Regions from separate parts of the Homo sapiens genome. Here region 1 is linked to region 2. Evidence: promoter capture Hi-C in human tissues and cell types (Jung and others, 2019). All regions are on one chromosome and are shown on one strand. The core of a region is centred on a gene start or on the middle of the fragment in contact, and the rest is flanking DNA. Distances in the headings are between cores, read along the strand shown. Region 1 has its middle 7.7 kb from the start of LENG8-AS1. Region 2 holds the start of RDH13 (retinol dehydrogenase 13).

Region 1 (4,840 bases), core at 2,247-4,746, 620 kb before region 2:
CACAGTGAAGGGCCCAGCTTATCATTCAAGGCACCCCAGGCCACCATCCTGGCCCTGCTTTTCATGACCTTCACGGATATGGGAAAGTCACTTGACCCGTTAGACCTCGGTTGCCTCTTTGATCAAACGGGTATCAGAAATCCAAAATTCCAAAATCCACAGATCCAAAGAGCTCCAAAGTCAAGCCATCCCCAAGCTCATTGGGCAGGAAAACCTGACCTGTGTTGGTGGGAGATGACTTACAGACATGACTGACACGCTTGGTGTGAACGTTCACATACTTCCCTGCAGAAAAGTTAACCAGGCTGCTGCACACTGCTGTGCTGAGCACTGAGGGTGCCGTGTGCCCTGTGGAGTAGAGATCATATTGCCTTTGCAACTGAAAAATCCTGAATCTCAACACACACCTGGCTCCGAGGGGATCGAGTTGGTGCTTGGTGACCCACAGTGCCAGATGCTGGTGTACAGCGTGGGGCCTGCTGCTGCTCTGTGCCTGTCAATCATTTCTATTTTGTGTACTGCAAGGAGCGTTCAGAGGAAGCTTTAGATATGTGGGCCTGACGGTGGGAATAAAAATCAACTGCAATTTCAGGGAGGGGTTCTGGGGGCCACATGCGTTCACTCACTTTTTCCTAACCATGTGGGCTGTCTGCCCCAGGCCCGGCCCTGCTGCTATGCTGACTTCTTTCCTCTCAAACACTGCCCTCTAGTGCCCCTGAGCCCATTTCCCAAGCACAGGCATCCGCTGGCTGTTGGGCGGCTGCAAAGTACCTTGAGACTCAGCTGCTTGATCTCCCATGCCAATGAGCCTGGGGGTGATCTCTCAACAAGAAGTTGGCCGGGCACCCTGGCTCACGCCTGTAATCCCAGCACTGTGGGAGGCTGGGGCAGGCGATCACCTGAGGTCAGGAGTTTGAGACCAGCCTGGCCAACACGGTGAAACCCCATCTCTACTAAACACAAAAATTAGCCGGGCATGGTGGCGGGCGCCTGCAATCCCAGCTACTCAGGAGGCTGAGGCAGGAGAATCACCTGAACCCGGGATGCGGAGCTTGCAGTGAGCCGAGATCGCGCCACTGCACTCCAGCCTGGGCGACAGAGCAAGACTCCGTCTCAAAAAAAAAAAAAAAAAAAAAAAAGGCATTTTACCCAAACTTTACAAAAGGAAAATCCAGTGTTATTTTTAGAATGTTACCTATGGGGGCTTCCACTGCGACCAGGATGGAGTCACAGAGACTGGACTTGACCCCCCAAAAATAGAGTAAATACAAGAAAACAACAGTGGTCAAGACTCTACCAAGAAAGTGATCCCTGAGGAACGGGAAACATCAAGGCAAGCCCTAAAATTGCCGCTGGGTCCTGTTGCAAGTTTCTAGACCACGGGACAGGGAGGGAAGACTGAGGCGGAGCTGGGAGGACTCCGTGAGCAGAGGAGACAAAGCAGGGAGTCTGAGCTTTGTTCTTGAGCTTTGTTTTGAGAATGAAGTTATGGGCCGGGTGCGATGGCTCACGCCTGTAATCCCAGCACTTTGGGAGACCGAGGTGGGTAGATCACCTGAACTCAGGTGTTCGAGACCAGCTTTGCCAACATGGTGAAACCCTGTCTCTACTAAATATATACAAATTCGCCGGGTGTAGTGGTGGGTGCCTGTAGTCCCAGCTACTCGGGAGCCTGAGGCAGGGGAATCTCTTGAACCTGGGAGGCGAAGGTTGCAGTGAGCCAAGATCGCGCCATTGCACTCCAGCCTGGGCAGCAGAGCGAGACTCCATCTCAAAAAATAAATAAATAAAAATAAAAATAAATTATCTTGGACTTCCAGCCTCCAGAACTGTGAGAAATAAGTGTTTGTTGTTTTTGAGCCACCAGTCCATGGTCCTCTGTTACTGCAGACTAGAATGCCAGGGAAAGAACCACCTGGAGGGACTGAAGCAAATAGCGCCTGAGTTCTGGGGACTCACACAGGCCTTGACAAGGCGCTGTTCCTGCCAGAAGAACCTCATAACTGAAGGAACACTGGGTAGAACACGGAGAGGGTCTTACATCAGCCGTGGGGAATAAGCAGCCCTAACCTGTTAAACACTGTTCTGGTCCTGCCTGAGGAATCTTAAAAGCAAAACCTGAAAGGATCAAGCTGCTTCCAAGTAAGGTGACTGCATTCTCAAACAAAGCTCAAGAATATTTATAGGCATACAAAAGTAACGAGTGCTCGACAAGGTAATACTGATATTGTCTAGTATCCAACAACAAAGTCACCAAATATGCAAAAAGCAGGAAAATAGGGCACATCATGAGGATAAAAATCATTCAACTGAAACGGACCCAGGAGTTAGAATTAGTAGGTAAGAACATTAGAACAACTATTATACTGTACTCCATACGTTCCAAAAGTTCTTTACAGATACGGAAGATATAAAAAAACTCAAACTGGATATCAACAGATAGAAATTACAATGTCTGAAATAAATAATGTACTGGCTGGAACAGCAGATTTTTGTTTTTTGGGGGAGAGTCTTGCTCTGTTGCCCAGGCTGTAGTGCAGTGGCATGATCTAGGCTCACTGCAACTTCCACCTCCCAGGTTCAAGCAATTCTCATGCCTCAGCCTCCCAAGTAGCTGAGACTACAGGCACCTGCCACCACATCCAGCTAATTTTTGTATTTTTAGTAGAGACGGGCTTTCACCATGTTGGCCAGGCTGGTCTCAAACTCCTGACCTCAAATGATCTGCCAGCCTCGGCCTCCCAAAGTGCTGGGATTACAGGTGCGAGCCACTGCACCCAGCCCTAGAACAGCAGATTAGACATTGCAGGAAAAAAAAAAAAATCTGGAAGACAACATTAGAAACTGTCCAAATGAAACATTTAAAAAAATGATTTTTTTTTTTTTACTTTTTAGACAGGGTCTCACTCTGTCACCTAGGCTGGAGTGCACTGGCGTGATCATGACTCACTGCAGCCTCAACCTCTCCAGCTCAAGCGATCCTCCCACTTTAGCCTCTCGAGTAGCTGGGACTACAGGCGCACACCACCATGTTTGGCTAATCTTTAAAAATTTTCTGTAGAGATGAGGTCTCACCATGTTGCCCAGGGTGGTCTCAAACTCCTGGGCTCAAGTGATCCTACTGCCTTGGCCTCCCAAAGTGCTGGGATTACAGGCATGAGCCACCATGCCCTGCCCCAGAAGGAATGAATATATTTTTTTTTAATGAAAAGAACACTGGTGAGCTGTGGGACATTTTAATATATGTGTAACTGGAGGCCCATAAGGAGAGAGAAAGAAAGGAACAGAGAGAGTGTTTAAAGAAATAATAACCCCAAATTTCCCAAATTTGATACAAACTATAAAACCAAAGATACAAGAAACTCAACACACCCCAAGCAGAAGAAACACAAAGATAAACCAAGATACATCATAATCAAATTTCTTAAGACCAGTAACAAAGAGAAAATCTTGACAACAGCCAGATGAAAAACAAAAAGATTTTATAAACAGAGGAACAAAAATTAGGATGACACCAGATTTCTCACTGGAAACAATGTGAGAAAGCAGTGTAAGAAAATTCTTAAAGTAGCAAAAGAAAAAAGTAGTCAACCTAGAATTCGATACTCACTGAAACTGTTTTTCAAAAGTGGGCCGGGCACGATGGCTCACGCCTGTAATCCCAGCACTTTGGGAGGCAGAGGCGGGCGGATCACAAGGTCAGGAGATCGAGACCATCCTGGCTAACACAGTGAAACCCCGTCTCTACTAAAAATACAAAAAATTAGCCGGGCGTGGTGGTGGACGCCTGTATTCCCAGCTACTCGGGCGGCTGAGGCAGGAGAATGGCGTGAACCCGGGAGGCGGAGCTTGCAGTGAGCCGAGATCGCGCCACTGCACTCCAGACTGGGCGACAGAGCAAGACTCCCTCTCAAAAAAAAAACCAAAAAAACAAAAGTGAAGACAAGGCCAGGCGCAGTGGCTCACACCTGTAATCCCAGCATTTTGGGAGGCTGAGGCAGGCGTATCACCTGAGGTCAGGAGTTCGAGACCAGCCTGGCCAACATGGTGAAACCCCGTCTCTACCAAAAAATACAAAAATTAGCTGGGTGTGGTGGTGGGCACAGAGCAGAGATAGAACAGTATCATAAGGCTGGGCGTGGTGGCTCACACCTGTAATCCCAGCACTTTGGGAGGCCAAGGCAGGCAGATCCCGAGGTCAGGAGTTTGAGACCAGCCTAGCCAATATAGTGAAACCCTGTCTCTACTAAAAATGCAAAAAGGAGCTGGGTGTGGTGGTGCACGCCTGTAATCCCAGCTACTTGGGAGGCTGAGGCAGTAGAACTGCTTGAACCTGGGAGGAGTAGGCTGCAGTGAGTCGAGACTGTGCCACTGCACTCCAGCCTGCATGACAGTGAGACTCCGTCTAAAAAAAAAAAAAAGGTATCATAAAAAATGCTCAAACTTCCAAACTTCTCTCCACAAATGGTGCTAGAACAACTGGACATCAACATGCCAAAAATAAATAAATCAAATCTATACACAGACCTTAGTCTCTTCACAAAAATTAACTCAAAATGGATCATAGAGCTGAATGTTAAATGCAAATCTATAAAACTCCTAGAAGATAACATAGGAGAAAACCTACATGACTGGGTTTTGTGAATTTTTTTTTTTGAGACAAGAGTCTCACTCTGTCGCCCAGGCTGGAGTGCACTGGCAGAATCTTGGCTCACTGCAACCTCTGCCTCCTGGGTTCAAGTGATTCTCATGCCTCAGCCTCCTGAGTAGCTGGAATTACAGGTGTGCGCCACCACGCCCGGCTAATTTTTGTATTTTTAGTAGAGATGGGGTTTTGCCA
Region 2 (5,168 bases), core at 1,981-4,480:
ACAATGTTTCCAAGCAGTATACTTGGTAAAAGTCATCGCCAGTCTCTAGTCTCAATAAACCAGGGGCACGATGCACTGCAGAAAGCTGCAGGGACCTCTGCCCTTGAACACAGAGTATTGTCCAAGGTTTCTCCCCGTGGGATAGTCTGAAATATGGCCTCGTGGGATGAGAAAGACCTGACCGTCCCCCAGCCCAACACCCGTAAAGGGTCTGTGCTGAGGTGGATTGGTAAAAGAGGAAAGCCTCTTGCAGTTGAGAGAGAGGAAGGCCACTGTCTCCTGCCTGACCCTGGGAACTGAATGTCTCGGTATAAAACCTGATTGTACATTTGTTCAATTCTGAGACAGGAGAAAAGCCGCCCTATGGCGGGAGGCGAGACATGTTTACAGCAATGCTGCCTTGTTATTCTTTACTCCGCTGAGATGTTTGGGTGGAGAGAAACATCAATCTGGCCTACGTGCACGTCCAGGCATAGTACCTTCCCTTGAACTTAATTATGTCATAGATTCTTTTGCTCACATGGTTTTTGCTGACCTCATTATCACCCTGCTCTCCTACTACATTCCTTTTTGCTGAAATAATGAAGATAATAATCAGTAAAAACTGAGGGAACTCAGAGGCCGGTGCCGGTGCAGGTCCTTGGTATGCTGAGCGCCGGTCCCCTGGGCCCACTGTTGTTTCTCTATACTTTGTGTCTTATTTCTTTTCTCAGTCTCTCGTCCCACCCAACTAGAAATACCCACAGGTGTGGAGGGGCAGGCCACCCCTTCACAGGCGTGGTGGTGCACACCTGTAATCTCAGCTACTCAGGGGGCTGAGGCACGAGAATTGCTTGAACCTGGAAGGCGGAGGTTGCAGTGAGTCGAAATGGTGCCAGCCTGGGCAACAGAGCGAGACTCTGTCTCAAAAAAATTTAAATTTAAATTTAAAATGCCCGCTGCACGAGATTCCCAAGGCTGCTGTACGCATTACCACAGACTTAGTGGCTTAAAACCACATAAGTGCATCCTCCTCCAGTTCGGCAGGTCAAGAGTCCAAAACATGTCTCACTGGAATAAATCAAGGTATTGGTAGAGTCAGGTTCCTTCTGGAGGCTCTAGGGAAGAATCCACTTCCAGCTCCTACAGACCGCCACATTCCTCCACTCTTGGCCCCGCCTCCATCTTCAACCTGCATCCTCACTGGAACCTCTCCTTTATTTATTTATTTATTTACTTATTTATTTTTGAGACAGAGTCTCGCTCTGTCGCCCAGGCTGGAGTGCAGTGGCTCAATCTCAGCTCACTGTAACCTTCGCCTCACAGGTTCAAGCGATTCTCCTGCCTTAGCCTCCTGAGTGGCTGGGATTACAGGCACATGCCACCACACCTGGCTAATTTCTTTTGTATTTTTAGTAGAGACAGAGTTTTACCACGTTGGTCAGGCTGGTCTCGAACTCCTGACCTTGTGATCCGCCTGCCTTGGCCTCCCAAAGTGCTGCGATTACAGGCGTGAGCCACCACACCCAACAACCTCTCCTTCTATCTTCCATCTCCCCTCTGACTGAGCCTCCTGCTCCCTCTTATAAGGACCCTATAAGACTACAAGGCAGGACCGGCACAGTGCCTCACACCTGTAATCCCAGCACTTTGGGAGGCCAAGACAGGAGGATCACTTGAGGTCAGGAGTTCGAGACCAGCCATGGCCAACATGCTGACACCCCATCTCTACTAAAAATACAAAAATTAGCAGGGCTTGGTGGTGCACGCCTGTAGAGTCAGCTACTCGGGAGGCTGAAGTGGGAGGACCACCTGAGCCCAGGGAGGGTGAGGCTGCAGTGAGCTGTGACAGCATGACTGCACTCCAGCCTGGGTGACAGAGAGACCCTGTCTCCAAAAAAAAAAAAAGACTACATGATAATCATAAGATCCTTCACTTGGCCGGGCACGGTGGCTCACGCCTGTAACCCCAGCACTTTGGGAGGCCAAGGTGGCCAGATCCCCTTTGGTCGGGAGCTCAAGACCAGCCTGACCAACATGGAGAAACCTCGTCTCTACTAAAAATACAAAATTAGACAGGCGTGGTGGCACATGCCTGTAATCCCAGCTACTCAGGAGGCTGAGGCCGGACAATCGCTTGAACCCGGGAGGTGGAGGTTGTGGTGAGCCGAGGTCGTGCCATTGCACTCCAGCCTGGGCAACAACAGCGAAACTCTGTCTCAAAAAAAAAAAAGATGCTTCACTTAACACATCAGCGAGAACCTCTGACACGTGAGGTAATGTCGTCACACCTTCCGAGGATTAGGACGTGGACCCCTCTACGGAGTCACGACTCTGCCCACCACACCCATGTCCCACAGAGGCTAACGCTGGCAACAAGATAGTGTCCAGCAACAGGAGGCTGAGCAGGTAAACAGCACTGCACCCACAGGAGAGAAGGGCACCATGCAATACAGTGGCCACCAGCCACAGAGGCTAATTTTTAAGAAAGTTTAAATTAAGTAGGCTGGGCGAGGTGGCTCACGTCTGTAATCCCAGCACTTTGGAGGCCGAGGCAGGCGGATCACCTGAGGGCAGGTGTTTGAGACCAGCCTGGCCAACATGGCAAAACCCCGTCTCTGCGAAAAATACAAAAATTAGCCGGGCGTGGTGGCGCACGTGTGATCTCAGCTCCTGGGGACGCCAAGGTGGGAGGATCACCTGAGCCCAGGAGGTCAAGGCTGCAGTGAGCCAAGATCGCGCCACTGCACTCCAGCCTGGGCGACAGAGCCAGATTCTGCCTTTAAAAATAAACGAACAAATAAATAATACAAAACAACAAAATAAAGAGTTTAAAAGTCTGGAAGGAAAGCAACATTTACAAGGGCCCAGGCTCGCCCTTCCCTCCGAGTGACCTTGGGCCGGTGACCTGGCCGGCCAGAGCGCAGGTTTGCCCCACTCCGGGCGGGCACTGCGGGTCGGGAGCTACGGGGCCTGGACCCGGGTGCGAGGGGCGGGGGTCTCCGCCGCCTTCCCGGCCCCTGCGCTGGGGGCCCGCCTTGACCGCGCACGCGGGGCTAGAATGTACTCACTTGAGCAGCACGGCGGCGCCTGCTACCGTGCCCAGCGCCGACAGCGGCAGCAGGTAGCGGCTCATGCCGGGCCGGGGACAGGCGTCAGGCGTCAGGGGTCGGCGCGGAGCTTGCTGCACACCAGCCGCCTGGGTAGCTCCGAGGAAGAGCGCGCGACGCAGCCACAGGCGAGCGGAGGCGCAGGCGCGGCTGGGCCCGCGTCCGGAACTGGGCTGCGAGGGGCGGGGCGCGGGCGGAGGGGGCGGGGATCCTAGGGACGGGACCTATGAGCATCGGTCCTGAGCGCTGTCACAGCTGGGATTGGTGGTTTCAGGAGCCTGTGGGCGTGGCTAGTCCGGGGGCGGGGCCTATGGTTTGTTCGAATGACGTCACACTTGCCGCAGCGTATAAGGCGCTACGCAGTTCTGGAGTGAAATAGGTTCGAATCCCACCACTGTCAATTCCAGACTGTGACCCTCTGTGTGTCTTTCAACTATATCAGCCTATTCCCTCATCTGGAAATGTGTGTTTACCTTCTTCATAGACTTTTGGAGATAATTTGAGAATTTCCATGCACAGAAACAAGGATCTAGTAGCCTGTGGGTACCCAAGCTCCTGGGGTCCTGCAGGAGAAGGCGGCTGGGGGCCTGGACTCCTGGGTCTGAGGGAGGAGGGGCTGGGGGCCTGGACTCCTGGGTCCAAGGGAGGAGGGGCTGGGAGCATGGACTTCTGGGTCCGAGGGAGGAGGGCCGGGTGCCTGGACTGCTGAGTCTGAGGGAGGAGGGGCTGGGGGCCTGATTCATTCCCAAATTATCAGAATCTCATCCCCATGTCTGGCCCTGCACAGAGATATCTTCCCTGAACTCTGCCTGAACTACCTTTCTTAGATTGAGTATTGCACACACTCCTGCACTTACCTGTCCATGTTTGTCACCCCCACCAAACCGGGATGCACCTCTGGGCACCTGCTTCCCCTTGCACTGCTCACAGCGAGTGTATCTGATCACCACCTCCTACCCCTGACTGTGCCTGAGGTGCCAGGAGCAGACACCGCTGGAAACAGGGAAGAATTCAACCCAATCTAACTAGGAGTAAGTTTTCTTCCTCATCAGATGAACTGTCATCTTCTTATATGAGCCCTGCCATAATGGAGATTATACAGGCAGGAAGAGCTATTTTAAGACCTTAGTCAATGGCCGGGCACGGTGGCTCACGCCTGTAATCCCAGCACTTTGGGAGGCCGAGACAGATGGATCACGAGGTCAGGAGATTGATACCAGCCTGGCCAACATGGTGAAACCCTGTCTCTACTAAAAATACAAAAATTAGCTGGATGTGGTGGCACTCACCTGTAGTCCCAGCTACTCAGGAGGCCGAAGCAGGAGCATCACTTGAACTCGGGAGGTGGAGGTTGCAGTGAGCCGAGATTGCCCTACTGCATTCCAGCCTGGCGACAGAGTGAAATTCTGTCAAAAAAAAAAAAACCTTAGGCCTGTAGACCTTAAGCTCTCACCATCTCAAACGTATTAAACCAGTTACACAATGCCAAATGCTGTATAAGAGGCACTTGGAGGAGTCAAATTCATAGAGACAGAAAACAGAGTGGTGGCTGCAGGGGGCTGGAGATGAGATTGGGAAGTCACAGGATTTGTTTTTGTTTGTTTGTTTGTTTTGTTTTGTTTTTTGAGAGACAGTCTCACTGTGTCACCCAGGCTGGAGAGCAGTGGGCGATCTCAGCTCACTGCAACCTCTGCCTCCTAGGTTCAAGCGATTCTCCTGCCTCAGCCTCCCGAGTAGCTGGGGCTACAGGCACGTGTCACCACACCCGGCTAATTTTTGTATTTTTAGTAGAGACGGGGTTTCACCATGTTGGCCAGGTTGGTCTCAAACTCCTGACCTCAGGTGATCCACCTGCCTCGGCCACCCAAAGTGCTGGGATTACAGGCATGAGCCACCGCACCCGGCCGGGAAGCTGTTTTTTAATAGATACAGAGTTTGTTTTGCAAAATAAAAAAAAGACCTGAAGGTGGACGGTGGTGATGGTTGCACAACAATGTGAATATACTTAACATCACTGAATTGTACACTTAAAATGGTTAAGATGGTACATTTTACTTTATGCATAGTTTACCAAACTAA

The links. Contacts are between HindIII fragments. The study calls those that stand out against the background at their distance.
Region 1: a contact is called between a fragment that was not itself captured here and the fragment with the promoter of RDH13 in region 2, in 2 of the 25 tissues and cell types used here (H1 embryonic stem cells and thymus).

Annotation. Positions count from the first base shown.
Region 1 is chr19:54,438,906-54,443,745 of GRCh38, forward strand. No RefSeq gene overlaps it. Among named protein-coding and RNA genes, the nearest start is that of LENG8-AS1, 7.7 kb to the right of the region's middle. The HindIII fragment of the contact is 7,065 bases long and covers 1-4,840 here.
Region 2 is chr19:55,059,918-55,065,085 of GRCh38, forward strand. RDH13 (retinol dehydrogenase 13) reads right to left here and starts at 3,231. Exons shown (of 7, transcript NM_001145971.2): 1 at 3,051-3,231. The coding sequence starts at 3,115. RefSeq lists an enhancer at 1,574-2,541. The HindIII fragment of the contact is 12,596 bases long and covers 893-5,168 here.